Linked DNA regions of Homo sapiens: region 1 is linked to region 2. The links are contacts of gene promoters, found by promoter capture Hi-C in blood cells and fetal thymus (Javierre and others, 2016). All regions are on one chromosome and are shown on one strand. The core of a region is centred on a gene start or on the middle of the fragment in contact, and the rest is flanking DNA. Distances in the headings are between cores, read along the strand shown. Region 1 overlaps NSF (N-ethylmaleimide sensitive factor, vesicle fusing ATPase). Region 2 holds the start of GOSR2 (golgi SNAP receptor complex member 2).

Region 1 (3,822 bases), core at 1,218-3,717, 190 kb after region 2:
AGAAATAAGCAAAAATCCTCTCACTCCTAGTACTGAAAAAACAATGTGAGGTTCAAGTAACTTTAAAACTGACAGGCAAGGACAACTTACCCACTAGACACAGTGCCCAGGGCCTATGAAACTTTGAGGAACCCATGAAAGTATTATTCTAATTTCTTTTAAAATCAGGCCAGGCCTGTAATCCCAGCACTTTGGGAGGCTGAGGAGGGCGGATCACTTGAGGCCAGGAGTTTGAGACCAGTCTGGCCAATATGGTGAAACCTCATCTCTGCTAAAAATACAAAAAATTATCTGGGTGTGGTGGTGTGCGCCTGTAGTCCCAGCTACTTGGGAGGCTGAGGCATGAGAATTGCTTGAACCCGGGAGGCAGAGGTTGCAGTGAGTTGAGATCGCGCCACTGCACTCCTGGAAAAAAAAAAATCAGAAAAAAAGAACTTTTTGGTGGAAGAAAATATTAATATAGTAATATATTCAGCTTTGTACCAACAGGTGGAAAATTTATTTTTTTTTTTAGTAGAGGAAGGGGCCCACAGGAGTCAAAATGGGGCCTTGCTCTCTGGAAGGCCTCTCCAGCTCTCACTGCAGCCCAGTTTTATGTTTTTGTGTTTTTTTCGAGACAAGGTCTCACTCTGGTTGCCCAGGCTGGAGTGCAGTTGCATGATCTCCACTCACTGCAGCCTCGACCTCCTGGGCTCAGGTGATTCTCCCACTTCAGCCTCCCGAGTAGCTGGAATTACAGGTGTGCACCACCATGCTTGGCTTTTTTTTTTTTTTTTTTTTTTGAGACAGAGTCTCGCTCTGTTGCCCAGGCTGGAGTGCAGTGGCGCGATCTCGGCTCGCTGCAACCTCCACCTCCTGGGTTCAAGCGATTCTCCTGCCTCAGCCTCCTGAGTAGCTGGGACTACAGACGCCTGTCACCATGCCTGGCTAATTTTTGTATTTTTAGTAGAGGCGGGGGTTTCACCATACTGGCCAGGCTGGTCTCGAACTCCTGACCTTGAATGATCCACCTACCTTGGCCTCCCAAAGTGCTGGGATTACGGGTGTGAGCCACCGTGCCTGGACTTTTTTGTATTTTTAGTAGAGATGGGGTTTTGCCATATTGCCCAGGCTGGTCTAGAAGTCCTGGACTCAAGCGATCCTCCTGCCTTGGCCTCCCAAAGTGCTGGGATTACGGGTGTGAGCCACCGTGCCTGGACTTTTTTGTATTTTTAGTAGAGATGGGGTTTTGCCATATTGCCCAGGCTGGTCTAGAAGTCCTGGACTCAAGTGATCCTCCTGCCTTGGCCTCCCAAAGTGCTGGGATTATAGGCGTAAGCCACTGCGCCCAACCACAGTTTAGTTCTCTTACTGTATGAACAGCTCATGAATCCTGGTGGTTGCCTGCCTTAATTTATAGCAGATGAAAGCAGCACACTGGAAAAAGGAGTCATCAGAGGCAGGCCAGCTGACACAACTCACTTGGATTCTGCAAGTAACAGCTGATAGCAAAACCACTAAAAAAAGAAAAGGTACAAAAAACTCAACAAACAGGGCACACCGTATCTACCTAACAGGCACCAGGACGGAATCCTGTATATTCCAACAGTTCCTGCTGAGTCCCACCCATGAAAATACTGACCCATCAATTATGGTTTGTTATGATGGTCCTTATTCATTAACATAGAGTTTATTATACTTTGCTTCAGACACTAAGAATGTATGTAGCAATTTTTTTCCTCTTAAAAAAGGCTAAAGTATAATAATTGATATTTAAAGAGGTTAAGCTTCAGTCATTTAGAAAAAATGAAGCCTATAATTTCTTATGAATTTCTATTCTTCCCTCCAGTGAAACTATGCCATATGAAGCCTAAGATAAGTACACAGAACATATCCTCAAATTCTCAAGTATCATATTGTACGTTAATTAAAAAAATTTAGGCTGGGTGTAATGGCTCACACCTGTAATCCCAGCACTCTGGGAAGCTGAGGTGGGTGGACTGCTTGAGCCCAGGAGTTTGAGACCAGCCTGGGTAACATGGCAAAACCCTGTCTATACAAAAAATATAAAGATTAGTCAGGTGTGGTGGTGTGCACCTGTTGTCCCAGCTACTCCAGGGGCTGAGGCGGGAGGATCAATTGAGCCCAGGAGGTAAAGGCTGCAGTGATTGAGACTGCGTCACTGCACTCCACCCTGGGCAACACAGCAAGATCCTATCTCTAATAATAATAATAATAATAATAATAATAATAATAATAATAATATGCTAATTTTAGCATACATAAATCCTTCACCTTCTCTCTCCATTGCTGCAGCGCTTGAATTCCTTAGCATGGCACAATGGCCCTGACTAAATCTCCCTTTTACTCATCTTTCAAGACCAGGATCCGAAACTACTATTTGTGAATGATTTGCACATCTTCTCAGGTAAAATGGACCACACTTTCCTTTATGTTCCACTGGAACCACGTAACATATAAAACCTAACTCTATGCATCATGTTTTCACATCTTTCTCCCACCCTGGATTGTGACAGGGACACCAGTTAGCTTCTGCATGGATCAGAAAACACACACACACACACACACACACACACACACGCACACACACCCTAGGTGAACAAATTAGAAAAAAGCAATCATCTGGGTGAGTGCAGCCACCCTTGCTTCCTTCCCCAAGCCCCAGCACCTCGTATGAGCTAAAAGGCACCCTCTTCCTCTTGTTCAGCGTTAGGGTTGCTAGAGAAATACCTGAGTATAAGTCTGACCAAAATATGGGATATGCTGATGCTAAAAAATTATGTGATGTTTTTCTGAAATTTAAATTTAACTAAGTATCCTATATTCCTATCTGCTAAATCTGGTAACCTTACTCAGGGCAGATTCAGTCCCAAACCAGGGTGGACTCCTTGGTGGGCAGCATGTGGGCTGGATGTTAACCTTCATTTGCTACTTGACCTGTGCCCACCTTGTGCACAAACTTCACAATTGAACAGTGTTCTTGGACTATGAGCCATCTGAGGGCAGGTACAATGTCTTATTCATCTTTTTATCTCTATACTGAGAAGGATTTCTTAAATGTACATCTAATAAAAGCAGATGTTCCTTAAAGAAATGTTTTAAACTTCTATGTCAAAAGAAATATTTTTGGTGAAAAAGAAACTTCCGATCTCCTTTCAATGAAGCTTAAGACAATCGTTACCATCTACCTTGGTCAACTTTAGTCACACTGGCATTCAACCATGGTAAGTTTAGATGGGGAGCATGGCACTGAGCCAAGTGCCAGGTGGGTTTCCCAGGACAACTGTGAGAGTTAGGAGGCACTTGCACACTTTTACTCCAAAACCCACAGCATATTTCAGATATTCAATTAAATCTTAAGTCATAAAAAGAACAAGGTTAAAAATATATTATACATAGACAAGCTTAGATACAAAGGTAGTCTCATTTAACCCTAGTGGTTAGCAGCAAATTAGTACCAAAGCAATGGAATTAAGGAATTTTTGACAGTTATACTGCTAAGTTAAAAATAATTGTATACACATTTTTTATTTTTTCCTGATTATCAAAGTAACATATGCTTATTGTAGAAAATCTATAAAGTACAGGAAACAATAAAGCAAAATAAAAAAGAAATCACCTATAATCCTACCATCCAAGATTAACAGGGTAAGGAGTAGAGGGAGGGCCAGGGCTTCTGGCCATTGTGAGATCCCCAAGGACACAGGAAATCTCCAAAGATCTGCATTCTTGTTTCTGGGACAGAAAGGTAGGAAAGAAACTGTGAAGCACCACTTTGTTGCACCATGAGTTAGGAGAAAAGGGGAACTTCAGCCACAAGCA
Region 2 (4,236 bases), core at 1,562-4,061:
ACCTTTACAACCATTGGGATCTCAAAAATAGAAGCCTGGCTATTAGCTCCTCTATAAAGTTCATCTAAATTAAACATTTAAGTGTAAAATGTTTATTGTTTTCATTCATTCATTATTTTCATTCATTCATTGTTCAGGTAGGTTCAGGAGTTTTCAAGTAACTTTAATATGTCAATCTAATTCCAATGTACTCAATGTATTCAGTGACACGGCAAGAGATAATCACAAACTGGGTTCAAAGTTCCAGTAAAATTAATAAGTTCAGCTACTGTTGTGTCAACTCAGCTACAATCACTAATTTCTGCAGTTGCGAAAGTTCATTGCTGGTGCTCACTGGACTCCACGTGTTTCTTGTGAAAGTCATTCAGTCATCAGTTCTGTTATCATGGAACTGAAAGGAGCCTTACAGTTTAACCAGCCCAAATTATAATATCATTCTACAGATGAGGAAAAATAAAGTAAGGAGGTCTAGAACCAGAACTCCCACTCCTGGTTCAGCACTGGAGAGGAAAGATAGACAAGATACTGCAGCATAAAAGAAGGTAAACTCCTCGAGGGCAGGGCTGTGCTGCCAGCACTGAGAATGGTGCACAGCACATAGTAGGTGCTCAATAAATATTCAATGAATTAATGAGTGTCGGGGTAGCAGAGGGCCTAATAGTTGTGGGGCAAAGCTGGCCCACTGCTTGTTTTGATAAATAAAATTGTACTGGAACACAGGTACATCAATTAGTTTACATATTGTCTATGGCTGTTTTCCCAATATAACAGCAGAGTAGTAACTACAGAGACCGTATAGCCCACAGAGCCTAAAATATTTACTATCTGGCCCTTAATAGAAAAAACTGGCAAGCTGCTAGAGTCCAAGGGTGCATTGTTGGAGGCCTACAGAGCATCTACACTCCACACACCTTGTTTGGGGTACCATTTAGAATTCCTCTTCTGAGCCATGCAGTTTTCTCTGTGATTAGCTGCACTGAAAACAGGTAGTCTAAGACTCTCTAAATAAAGTTATTCTTGAATATAAAATGGGTCATGGCCTTCTTGGCAACATCCTTTAACTAAATTAACTAGATAAGACCATACATAACAGATTAACTTCAAGGCACTACTATGCCCATTGTGCCCTGCTATTGTGAAAGATAGGCCCTTTCTTAGTAACATGAACATAATTTCGTTTCATTCTTTCTCTAAATTACTCACAGACTAGTTTTAAGTCCCTTCCTATAACGTTTATGTGAGAATAGGGCTCCCCAGTGTAAAAGAAAATTCTGTCATTACAAAGTAGGTTCTGTATTTTCGCCTGTCCAAATGAAACACCTCATCGCCAAAATAAAAGAAACCCATAAACTTAGAAAATGAAAGAGAAAGAGGATCATCACCCTCTTATTCCTCATGCTTCAGGGCATTTCATTTCCAGGCCTTGGGAGTGTGATTTTAAGTGTTTTAATCAACAAAACTACAGCATAAGTTTGAAAGTTCTCAATAGGATAGGTATATACCTCAAAAAATTGAGAAGAGAAACTAAAACAGATACTTCTACACCAGAGTTCATAGCAGTATTATTCTCAACAGCCCAATGGTGGAAACAACTCAAGTGTCCATCAACAGATGAATGGATAACAAAATGTGGTAGACACATAAAACGGAATATTATTCCGTCATAAAACAGAATGAAATTCTGGTAACAGGCTACAATATAGATGAACCCTGAAAACATTAAGTGAAATAAGCCAGATACAAAAGGACAAATTCTGTATGACTCCACTTATATTAAGTATCTAGAATAGGTAAACTCATAGAGAGAAGTAAAACAGAGGTTACTAGGTGTTCTGGAAGGAAGAAATGAAGTGCTACTGATTAACAGGCACACTGGGATGATGAAAAAGTTCTGGAAATGGATCGTAGTGATGTAAGTTGTGAATGTACTCAATGTCACTGAATTGTACACTTAAAAATTGTTAAAACAGTAAATCTTATGTTGTGTATATTTTACAATAAAAAATAAAAATCATAAAATTCCGTCCCTCCAAAACAGGGTAAAAATCATAATTCTGCCCCCCGCCCCCAAAAATAGGGTAAGTATGGCCCCATTAATACTCAACTACGTATCTCAGCAATTCCGAAAGTGCAGGACGATGCGAATAAAGGACACTACCAAGGAATTTAAGTTATGAGAAACTAAATTACAATTTGATTTTCTTAGCGATAACCTGTAACCAGATACGATTAACAAGTAATAATAGTGAATGCTACGTGGACAGCAATTTCTTTGTACCATAAAAATGTGGTCTTTAGTATAAATCGAATAAGAATACAAATACTTTCCCGTACGTGCCCTGACTCTCCAATTAAACAGTACACTCCTACGGCCAGGGGCCGTGTCTCCTACTCCGTGTCTCCTCTCGAGGTCTACCAACCAGGAGCACCGAGTTGACAAGTGCTGGACAAAGTTTTATAACCTGCAGGTGCCAGTTTCCCGTCACCCAGTCTACCCAGCAGGTAGTCACGAACTTGCAGACCCCAGGAGTCATCTGCCCCACGTCTCCAGGCCCCAGCCTGAACCCACTGTCTGTGGCTGACCTGGGAGTCCCGCCAAGGATTAAGCACTTCGGAGGCATCCCCAGCAGTGCCCTGGCGGAAAAACTCGGCCTCTACCCTGGCTGACGTCCGAGGCCTCAGCCCCAGAAGCCAGGCTCACCTGGCCTCGCCTCGTCTAGCCCCTGCCCGCTCCCCGACCGGCCCTCACTTGTGCGTTTGCTGGAACAGGGGATCCATGTCGCCGGCCCCGCAGGCCACGGCTCCGGCTCTGGCTTCCTCGGAACACGTCCTCACAGCCCCCCTTCCGGTTTCCGGCTTCCGGTCGCAGGACCCTCCCTCCCCTGCCGGCCAGGGCTGCCCGCACGCGCGCCTTACTAGCAGTGGTTGCGAGATCGGAGAAGGGGAAGGAGAAATGAGGCCGGCGACGGAAGGATAAGTGTAGTCACAGGCTCGGCTTCACGTGAAGGGCAAGGCGGTGTACATGTTCGCTGAAGGCTAGCCTCAGGATTCAGTCAGGCGTTAGGAAGGACAATCGCGGGATACTAACGAGAGGTCCTCAGAGCAAAGTTGAAGGCGAGCCGCTATCATCTGCTGTTCTCTGCCGCAGAGAGGACTGGAGGTTCTTGCTTGGCTTCACTTTAAACCATTTAATCGGGGGTCTGGAGATTTCGCTCTTCACTGTTTTTCCTGGCGCAAGCTTTTCCTGTTTCGCATTTGTCTACTCACTCTCCCGCCTATCTACCCCCCATTCCTATTTATCCATCCAGTAAACCTACATTGAATGAGTGGTTATTATGTGTCATGTGTAAAGTAGGGAAAACCGGGTTCCTCCTGCCCTCAAAGAGGTTCTGGTCTGGGAAAGGAAATAAGATATGTATACTCTCAAAAGACAAAATTACAAGAAATGTAGTTATAGATTTTTTTTCTTTATTTTATTATTTTTTATTATTATACTTTAAGTTCTAGGGTACATGTGCACAACGTGCAGGGTTGTTACATATGTATACATGTGCCATGTTGGTGTGCTGCACCCATTAACTCGTCATTTACATTAGGTATATCTCCTAATGCTATCCCTTCCCCCTCTCCCCACCCCACAACAGGCCCCGAAGTGTGATGTCCCCCTTCCTGTGTCCAAGTGTTCTCATCGTTCAGTTCCCACCTATGAGTGAGAACATGTAATGTTTGTTTTTTTGTCCTTGCGATAGTTTGCTGAGAATGTTGGTTTCCAGCTTCATCCGTGTCCCTACAAAGGACATGAACTCATCATTTTTTATGGCTGCATAGTATTCCATGGTGTATATATGCCACATTTTCTTAATCCAGTCTGTCATTGTTGGACATTTGGGTTGGTTCCAGGTCTTTGCTATTGTGAATAGTGCTGCAATAAACATACATGTAAATGTGTCTTTATAGCAGCATGATTTATAATCCTTTGGGTATATACCCAGTAATGGGATGGCTGGGTCAAATGGTATTTCTAGTTCTAGATCCCTGAGAAATCTCCACACTGTCTTCCACAATGGTTGAACCAGTTAACAGTCCCACCAACAGTGTAAAAGTGTTCTTATTTCTCCACATCCTCTCCAGCAGCTGTTGTTTCCTGACTTTTTAATGGTCGCCATTCTAACTGGTGTGAGATGGTATCTCATTGTGGTTTTGATTTGCATTTCTCTGATGGCCAGTGATGATGAG

The links. Contacts are between HindIII fragments. The CHiCAGO score rates a contact against its expected background, and 5 or more counts as called.
Region 1: a fragment that was not itself captured here is called in contact with the fragment with the promoter of GOSR2 in region 2 in 1 of 17 cell types (naive B cells); the score reaches 5.2 in naive B cells.

What each region holds. Positions count from the first base shown.
Region 1 is chr17:46,736,331-46,740,152 of GRCh38, reverse strand. All of the region lies in intron 17 of NSF (N-ethylmaleimide sensitive factor, vesicle fusing ATPase), which reads right to left. It also overlaps a transcript of LRRC37A2 not described here. Among named protein-coding and RNA genes, the nearest start is that of WNT3, 80 kb to the left of the region's middle. The HindIII fragment of the contact is 1,398 bases long and covers 1,769-3,166 here.
Region 2 is chr17:46,921,735-46,925,970 of GRCh38, reverse strand. GOSR2 (golgi SNAP receptor complex member 2) reads right to left here and starts at 2,811. Exons shown (of 6, transcript NM_004287.5): 1 at 2,750-2,811. The coding sequence starts at 2,778. It overlaps GOSR2-DT (GOSR2 divergent transcript), which reads left to right and starts at 3,100. Exons shown (of 3, transcript NR_186460.1): 1 at 3,100-3,160. It also overlaps a transcript of LRRC37A2 not described here. RefSeq lists an enhancer at 2,111-2,835. The HindIII fragment of the contact is 7,846 bases long and covers 1-3,240 here.